2 separate regions of the Homo sapiens genome follow, and region 2 is linked to region 1. Evidence: promoter capture Hi-C in human tissues and cell types (Jung and others, 2019). All regions are on one chromosome and are shown on one strand. Each heading gives the region's core, a stretch centred on a gene start or on the middle of the fragment in contact. The rest is flanking DNA. Distances are from core to core; before and after follow the strand shown.

The links. The method cuts DNA at HindIII sites, captures the fragments that hold promoters and counts their contacts. A contact is called where the count stands out against the background at its distance.
Region 2: the fragment with the promoter of C1QL1 here is called in contact with a fragment that was not itself captured in region 1 in 1 of the 25 tissues and cell types used here (hippocampus).

What each region holds. Positions count from the first base shown.
Region 1 is chr17:45,304,285-45,308,898 of GRCh38, forward strand. The region is part of intron 1 of MAP3K14 (mitogen-activated protein kinase kinase kinase 14); the gene reads right to left. Among named protein-coding and RNA genes, the nearest start is that of MAP3K14, 10 kb to the right of the region's middle. RefSeq lists an enhancer at 3,428-3,567. The HindIII fragment of the contact is 4,981 bases long and covers 320-4,614 here.
Region 2 is chr17:44,966,042-44,970,655 of GRCh38, forward strand. It overlaps C1QL1 (complement C1q like 1), which reads right to left and starts at 2,262. Exons shown (of 2, transcript NM_006688.5): 1 at 1,411-2,262. The coding sequence starts at 2,007. It also overlaps the pseudogene LOC112268183. RefSeq lists silencers at 2,193-2,552, 4,389-4,458. The HindIII fragment of the contact is 17,092 bases long and covers 1-4,614 here.

The sequences.
Region 1 (4,614 bases), core at 1,560-4,059:
TGAGCCACCATGGTTGACCTCTAATTCATTCTTTTTAAGGCTTCATAAGATTGGAAGGTACAGATGTATCATCATTTTCCCACCTGGAAACTTTGTTTCCAATTTTTCACTTATACGTAATAATGGAAAAAACTCTACCCTTATTCACATTTATGTGTACATGTAGAAGGAATTCTAGGTGGTAAGCTCTTGGGATTGGAATTTCTGGGTGACTCTTTTGTTAATGGGTTATATCTTTTCTCCTGTTTCTATGTGTCAGAGAAGTAGATAGCATCAGATAGGTGGTTTCCAAACATTGTATTATTTATTTGCTGTGAAGATGCTATCCTTGCTTTCAACATGCCTATAGTCTAGATGGGGAAAAAATGGGTAGATGGATAAATAAATCATAAAGGAATAATCAAAGTGCTCTTAGGATCAGAAAGACCCTCAGAGGTAATTTCTTCCAACATATTACTTACTAATCCTGAGGAATGGCCATTCAGCTACATGACAGGATGGCCTTGGAGTCAGAAGATCTGAGTTTGAATCTTAGTTTCTCAATACTCTGGTGTGTGACCATGGGCAGGTCACATAATCTGAGACTCAGGAGTCTTATCTGTAATATAGGGATCCTCAAACCTACATGATAGAATTTTACACGGTGACTCAATGCAAGGAACAAAGTTTAAATTACATAGCACAGTGCCTGGCATGCAGTGGGCACTCTGGAAACATCAGTGGAACCTCCAGTGAGATGGAAGCCGCTACAAGATGAGCAGTCAGACCTTTGTATGACTGGAAGTGTAAGATTTTTTTTGGTTTTATGTTTTTTTATTTTTTTTATTTTTTGAGACGGAGTCTTGCTCTGTCGCCCAGGCTGGAGTGCAGTGACGCAATCTCGGCTCACTGCAAGCTCTGCCTGCCGGGTTTACACCATTCTCCAGCCTCAGCCTCCTGAGTAGCGGGACTACAGGCACCCGCCACCACGCTCAGCTAATTTTTTGTATTTTTAGTAGAGACAGGATTTCACCATGTTAGCCAGGATGGTCTCGATCTCCTGACCTCGTGATCCACCTGCCTCGGCCTCCCAAAGTGCTGGGATTACAGGCGTGAGCCACAGCGCCCGGCCGTTTTTTTTTTTTTTTTTGTGAGACAGAGTCTTGCTGTCACCCAGGCTGGAGTGCAGTGGTGTGATCTTGGCTCACTGCAACCTCCACCTCCCGAATTCAAGCGATTCTTATGCCTCAGCCACCCAAGTGGCTGGGATTACAGGCATGTACCACCACGCATGGCTAATTTCATTTATTTATTTTTTTGTAGAAATGGGATTGTGCCATCTTGGCCAGGCTGATCTCAAACTCCTGGCCTCAAGTGATCTGCCCACCTCAGCCTCCCAAAGTGCTAGGATTACAGATGTGAGTCATGGTCTATAAGTGTTAAGTTGCTTCAAAGTTGCTGCTATAAGGCACTGAAGCCTACCTCCCACAGCTTCTAGCCAGCAGCCCTAGCATCAGACAGAAAGTCTGGAACAGATGTGGTCAAAGCAGGAGGAGGACAATCCTGAAAGCAGAGGGACAGAGTGGTCGGCAAGAACCCATGAAGATGTTCTTTGAAGAGCATTCTGCACACCCCATCTGGCTTCTGTGTCCACTGGCAGTGCCTCAGCTCTGCGTGATGAACTGGGACCCACAATTCCTTGGCAGCTAAAGCTGAAATTAGTTGTCCTGTGGTCATCTTTGAGTGTTACAACAATCTGCTATTTGTATACACATAACTACATGCTGGTTGTTGGTAATCATACAAATGAATAATAATGACAGCTATTATTATCTGCCATGTATTAGGTAATGCGTGCATTTTTTTCTTGAATCCTCACAACTCTGTGAGCAAGGCACTAATGTTATCCGTTTACAAGGAGGAAGAAACTGGGCCTCAGTAGGCCAAGTAATTTGCCCAAGGCCACACAGCAGTGAAGTGGCAGCGGCAGGATTTGCACAAGAGACTTTTATGTCAAAGCCCATACTCTTAACCATGACACTCTTCCTACTCCCAAATGATCTAAGCTTTAAAAATTGGGACCGAGATGCAGAAGCTGTCACAAGTCAAAGGTTAGTGAGAAATTCAGGGACTGGCCTGGGAGGAAGCACCTTAATTAGGAAGCATGAACTACAGCCAGCCTATGTTCTGGAAAAAGCAACTTTAAAATGACAACAGGGAAGAAAGACTCCAAGCTGGACTTGTGGTGGGCCTGTGTTCCTCAGCCCACCCAGGCCTGACATAGCCAGGCCCATTCCAAGGAGAAATTCTATGACAAATGCAAATTTGCCATTCACTTTACAAAGCCTGGCTGCAGGCTTCTTGAACCTATTTACCATTCTTTTTATAACAAAGACTCGAGCATCATTTGCTATCTTCATAAATTTCATCAGTACTTTTGCCCCCAGGCCCTGATACAGGGCATTTTATAAGCTTTAAAAGAGAAGTATTACAATGGTATTTTCAATTCAACCTTCAAATCCTTTGCACAAGGAGAGCCAACAGCAAATAGAAAAGACGCCACAGGGGGCATCATGGATCCACAAAGACCCAATATGCAGGAGAACATGTCGGGCAAGGTAGTATTGAGATAAAAACCTGTCACACGTGTACTTAATTTTATACAATAAGCAACAAGGAATGTTTAATGTATATTGTATAAAAAATTTTTCAGGCCGGGAGTGGTGGCTCACACCTGTAATCCTAGCACATTGGGAGGCCCAGGCGGGCGGACTGCCTGAGGTTGTGAGATCGAGACCAGCCTGGCCAACATGGCAAAACGCTGCCTCCACTAGAAATACAAAAATTAGCTGGGTGTGGTGGTGGGTGCCTGTAATCCCAGCTACTCGGGAGGCTGAGGCACAAGAATCGCTTGAACCCGGGAGGTGGAGGTTGCAGTGAGCCGAGATTGTGCCACTGCACTCCAACCTAGGCAACAGAGTGAGACTCTGTCTCAAAAAATTAAAAAAAAAAATTAATTAATTAATTAATTAAAAAAATTTCAAGTGTCATCGAAATCAGCAACTTAGGGTATTTTGTGTAACTGAATATTCTGATTAAGTGGGGGCTGCCCTGTATGCCACTTAACATGACCAATTTCCAAAGATTAGATGGCCATAATTGCCCTTGACACTAAAATCATGTGAAACACAGCCAGTTTCTTTGATGACTCAAAACGTACTTTGTGATCTTGCCAAGCTTTGAGATCATCGTTACAAGCAGCATTTTGGTTGTGAAAAACAACTCTCCTTATTTAACCTTTTGGGGTGGATTCTGAGCAAGAAGTTCCCTAGGCTACGGTCAATCTCGCTGAAATACAACCACCCACCGCTCCTTTCTGGGTTTAGAAATCTGGTTTTCAGAGGTGGGAGTGGCTTCAAGCAGCGTCTACCTGTGTTCAGAAAAGATGAAGAAAGACAGGCTCAGGCTCCCTGTATAGGAGAATTCAAGTTCATTGTAGTCACTGGTGACTGGTTCTGAAATTGAGGAACTAGTTTGAGGAACTTCAGAATAAACAAGAAACCCAAAGAACTCAGCTTCCACAGAAGGCTTCCAATGCATGGAAGGAGGCACAGGTCCAGCTCCGCCCTGTGGCGGGGCAACCTTGACCCTGGCCTCATTTCAGATGCTGCCCCACATGCTCTTTGACAAGCTGGACCAAGTAACCAGCTTGAGGACATGAGTGGCAGAGGGGTCCCTTTATAATGAGGGGTCATATTCTTGTCCTCCCTTGGGAAGGTAAAAAAGGGCTTGGGACATGGGGCATGATGAGGAATATTCTCAGAGGATCTCACACGATTCTTTGGTAAAAGAGGGTAAATCATGAAACAGCCCACGGCTCTCTCGTCCTCCCCGAGGCCAGCAGGGCTTAGCGGGAGGAGTTTGGATTCAAGTCTTGTACTTTCACTCAACAGCAAATATTTAATCAGTGGCTACCATGTTTCAGGCACCGTGCTGGCCAGCAGGAATATGAGGATGACCAAGAGCCTTCTCTGTTGAAACCCTTGAAAGGCCTTCTTGGAATGCTGAACCCAGTTACCTAGAAGCACTGCCTTGATCTACCTGCCTACAACTCTCTAGTGGCACCAAGCCTATGGGATGTGCCAGTGTGGTCACTGCCCTCCCAATTCTCACTTGGAGGGGTGGGAGGTGGTCAGTTATGTGTTTATTAGCTGGCTACTCACTGTCTGATTCTACTTTGAACTATATTTTCTTTTTTGAGAAGAGGACTTGTTCTGTCACCCAGGCTGGAATGCAGTGGTACAACCATAGCTTACTACAGCCTCGAACTCCTGAGCTCAAGTGATCATCCCACCTCAGCCTCTGAAGTAGCTGGACTACAGGTAAGCACCACCATGCCCAGCTAATCTTTTTTTTTTTTTTTTGACAGAGTCTTGCTCTGTCGCCCAGGCTGGGGTGCAGTGGTGCGATCATGGCTCATTGCAACCTCTGCCTCCCAGGTTCAAGTGATTCTTGTGCCTCAGCCTCCCGAGTAGCTGGGATTACAAGTGCCCACCAACACACCTGGCTAATTTTTGTATTTTTAGTAGAGACGGGTCTCACCATGTTGGCCAGGCTGGTCTTGACCTCCTGGCC
Region 2 (4,614 bases), core at 1,012-3,511, 340 kb before region 1:
GAGAAGAGTGGGGTTAGATCCGGGGAGGAGAGGCCAGAAACCCAGGGAGAGATGGAAAAGGCAGACACAGGAGAGAGATGGACAAGAAACAGCAAAATAGAAGAAAGAGGCAGGGGAGAGGCAGAAACCAGAGAAAAGGTGTTGGCGGGGCAGCAGCCAGGCAGAGGAAAGAGAAGAAGGGCTGACTTATAAGCACCTGGCAGGCTATCTGCTCACTTTCCCTGCCTGCCCCTGTCTCTGCCCCTAAGACTTGCAGACCCGCAGGCTGGCAGAGCCTCAGGGCAGTGCTGCTGTGGGAAGGGTTCCAACAAGGTCTTGTATCTTAATCGTGAGAGATTCCTTCTCAACTTCCACTAGCTCAGCTTTAGTTCTGACCAGTGGTCCCCTTCTTCGAAGAGAATGCTCAGCCTGACCACACCCCCAGGTCACAGGCCACCACGAGTGAGAGCACTGGGAAGGGAGGTGGTATCAAGAGAGCTGGCTAAAATTGTCACCCCAGGGCGGGGCTGGGTGGAGGCTGGTCCTGGGGTCGGCCATTCCAAGGAGAGCTACACGCACATGCGAGTCCCGGTACCAGAGTCCCCGACACACTCAGTGCTTTCCAGCTGCAGCGTCTGAGATGGGGACGGAGAATGGAGAGGACCCCACACACTCCAGAGTCAGGAGGGGCTGGAGCTGGGAGACCAAGAGGAGGGGGAGTTTCCATCTCTTCCACCACCCCCCACCCCCCACCCCCTCCCCGCCTCAGGAGGAAAAACTCCCCCGCCCCCCAGACTGCCTTCTTTTTGGGGAAGCTCTGCTACAGTGGGAAACAGCTCCCCAACTCCCGGATTTTGCAAAGGGTGTCAGATTCGCCCAATGGTCCCTTCTCCAGGGCAGGGGAGGCACTGCAGCCAGGGCTGTAAGCACCGGGCTCCCTTTGCCTTTGTGCCCCAAACATTTCCTGCAGCCAGCCTTCTCCGCTCGCGCCCATGGCCACGCGCCTAGGCGCCCGCGGGCGCGGATGCTGCTTCTCCCTGTTCCATACGCCAGAGCCCATCCTTGCCCTCCCCTTATCGCCCACTGCTGTCGGCCCGAATCCACTTCCCAAGGGGCAAGCCCCCAAGGGCAAGTCCGTGCACCTGGGAGCCCTGCGCTCTGACTAGTTGGGTTCATTTCCCGCATTTCCAGTAGCGTTCCAGACGGTGCCCAGCAGCGTCTGTCTTGGAGCGGGAACCCAGGAACTGAGGATCGGCGATGTCCGCTGGCTCCGACCATCCCCACACGTGATGACCAAGCGGGGCCGCTGTGGGGTGGGATCTCCACCTGCGTCCGCCTGGCGCCCCCGCCAACTCCGATCAGGTACCCATTTGCCCCGGGCTCCCTGGGTGCCCTGGGCCCAGCCCAGCCCCATGCCCCCGCCTGGCCCACCTGGCCATTCTTGCAGAGGTCTGCCCACATACTGGTGCCGTCGCCGCCGCGCATGAGGACATGGTAGGTGAAAAAGTAGGTGCCGGGAATGTTGCACGTAAACTTGCCGCTGGCCGCGTCGTAGTTGTTGCCTAGGTTGGTGACCACGTCGTCAAACTTGAGTACCTCGTAACCCTCGTGGGGGTTCTTGAGGCCGGCGTAGAAGGCCACGCGCGGCACCGTGGTGTAGGTGGCAGTGCTGATGGCGCCGCTGCCCCCCGCGCCCGGCAGCCCCGGAGGGCCCGGCTTGCCTGGCTCACCCTTCTCCCCCGGCGGCCCCACAGGGCCGGGAGGACCTGGGTCCCCGGGAGGCCCCGGAGGGCCGGGCTTGCCGGTGCGGCCCGGCTTCCCCTGGGGGCCCTGCACCAGCGTGGAAGGCGGGGGCGCGCCGCTCTGCTCGCTCAGGGCGTCGCCGCCGTCGGTCCGCGCGCCGGCGCCGGGGCCCCGCGCGGGGTAGGGGTCGCACACCATGCGGCAGGTGCCCAGCATCTCATAGTGGCCTTCCGGGCCGCCCGAGCTCACCAGCACGGGGATGAGCACCACCAGCACCAGCAGCATCACCACACCCGCGGCGGCCGCTAGCAGCGTCTTTCGGCCCGCGCGGAGCCTGGGGAGCGCCGGGCCGCCCGGCCGCGCCGTCGGGGCAATGGTGCCGGCGGGCAGGGGGCGCGGGCTAGGCGCCCGCGCTCAAGGACGGTCCGGCGGGGCTGCGGGCATGGGGCCGGGCCCGGGGCGCCGCGCTGCGCTGGCTGCGCTGCGGAGCCCAGCCGCCGGCTCCTGCCTCGCGCCTCCCTCCTGCTGCGCTGCCGGACTGAGCGCCGCGGCCGCCGCCTCCCGCCTCCCGCCTCCCGCCTGCAGCCTCCCGCCTGACTCCTCCCGCCTCCTTGAGCCGGGCCACCGCCCCCTCGGCCGGGCCCCGCCCCGCCAGCTCCGCGCGGCTCTGGGCTCTCTAGGGGTGGGGCTGCGGGCGGGGCCGGCGCCTAATTGGGCCGCGGGCGCCTCGAGGTGGGCGGGGCATAAGGGGGCGGGGCCGCGGAGACCCCGGGCGGGAGCAGGGAGAGGAAAGAAGAGACTGAGTACGCGGAGACCGAGATTCGGAAATGGGGTGGGGGCCGGGGTCCGAGAGACCCGAGAGGCGCTCCAAGGGAAGGGGAGAGTAGGGACCAAAATGCGAAAGGGAGAGAGGGCCACAGGGAGAGCTAGAGAGCTCCGAGGGGATCGGGAGAGGAGAGGCTTCGAGGGTCGGTCACCAGGAAAACAGAGGGACTGGGGTCGCGACGGGCCAAGACCCGCAGGGGGCGGAAGCGAGGGGATAGCGCCCAGGTCTGCAGGGGACAAAGAGCGATTGAGGGGAGGACGGAGCGGGGAGCTGGAAGGTAGGATGAGAAAGGGGGTTATGAAGCGAAGAAGAGGATACGGAGGGGACCATTTGGCACTCAGGCCTCGCAGACCACCCGTCTGGGAGATCCAGATATCGGATGAATGCCTGTCCGGGGGCCCAGCGGAGCCAGACGGCAGCCGCCTCCTCCTTTCTGGATCTGACTGTTCCGGGACCCGTCTCCCCCGAGGTGGGGCAGGAGCTTCCAACCCCTCCTCGCCTCTGCCCCTTCCTCACCGAACTGTGGCCAGGCTGCTTTTTCCTGGGCCCTTTTCTTCCATCTCCCTCTGCTCAATCCCTTTACTTCTGCCTCTAGACCAGGGAGAAAAGGGGATCCTAAAAAGGTGGGCACCCCCACGTTATTTCTCCATGCTGACAGATGCAAATACGTCCCTGAGGGGTAACCCCCTTTTCCAGCCTCCAGGATGAGGGGTGGATCTCATCCAGCCCCTCAGCTCCTCCTCCCTCACTCCCCAGCCTCCTCCGCCGCCCCCTAACTCTTCTCCCCATCAGGCTGTGGGAGGCTCTCCTCTTCCTCAAGTGCAGCAAAGTGTTTAGGTTGCATAAACCGAAACGTGTCTGCTTCCATCAAAATATTTGTCACATTATCTGAGGCCCAGGTCGGGCTGCTCCACCGCTCCTCCTTCGCCCTCCTTTATCCGGCCCACCGGGGAGGATTCAGCCATTCGGAGGCGACTGGCCGGCTGCTAAAGAATGACATCCCAGCCTCTCCTCTCCCGAGAGCTACCCCCCGCCGGCTCACACTCTCCCTGTTGACCCTTCACCATGGGCAAAATGATTCCCTGGCCTTCCCTACCCAAGGTTGAGGTCGCTCACCTCATCCAGGGCTGGGAGTAGAAGGACACAGGGACATCCAACGAGGGGGCTGTGAAAGAGGACCCTCCAAGCACTAATGGCTGAGGCCAGGTTGGAGTGACCCCACCACCACCAAGGAGGGAGCTAAAAAATTTTCAATAAGTAGCATTTATTCAGGGTTTACTCTGTGCTAGGCCCTGTGTTGAATGTTTTACATACATGATCACCCTTGATCTTCACATCAGTCCAAAGAAGTAAAATCCAAGATTATTTTAATTTTACAGATGGAGAACTGAGGCTCTGGGAAGTTAAGAGATTTGCTTAAAGTCACACAACTAATAAGTGGGAGAGCCGGGACTCAAACTCGTAGCCTGGCTCCAGGCTCTTCCAACCTCAGCGCGATAGAGTCTCTAGGTACCGTTTACTGCCCAAAGCCCAGGGGTAGGGGGCTCAGGGCAGCCAGACCTCCCTAGGCTCAGGAAGAGTAGTCTTCAGCGCTCGGCTGTCAGGCAATCCGGTCCCCGGTTCCCCACGGCGGTCTCCTCGGTGTGCCCCACCAAGAGCGACAGGGCTGGTGACCCGAGGGGCGCGTGCGCGGTCGTCAGCCTGGGATTTGCACGGACCCCCTTCTCCCTAGTACGCTCGCTCGGGGGCCCCTCCTCTGCTACGCCGCTGGGGCTCGCCCGCCACCCACAGCCCTCGCAGAGCCCTCCGGGCACACCGCGGCTGGCCGCCCGGGGCCAAGGATGGGGCGGGAGCGCCCACCCACCCCCGCGCCGGCCGGGGCATCCAAGAGGCGCGCTCGCAGCCACACGGCGCCCCGCCTCCCGCTCCGAAAAAGCTCCTGCTCCCCTGGCGCGGTGTGGCGTCTCCGTCAGCCCAGCCGGATTCTCCCCGCTTCGCTGGAGTGGAAAATAACGGCTTCAAACTTTGCAGAGAGGAGCTGGTGCCAGCACTTTAATTAACAGCCA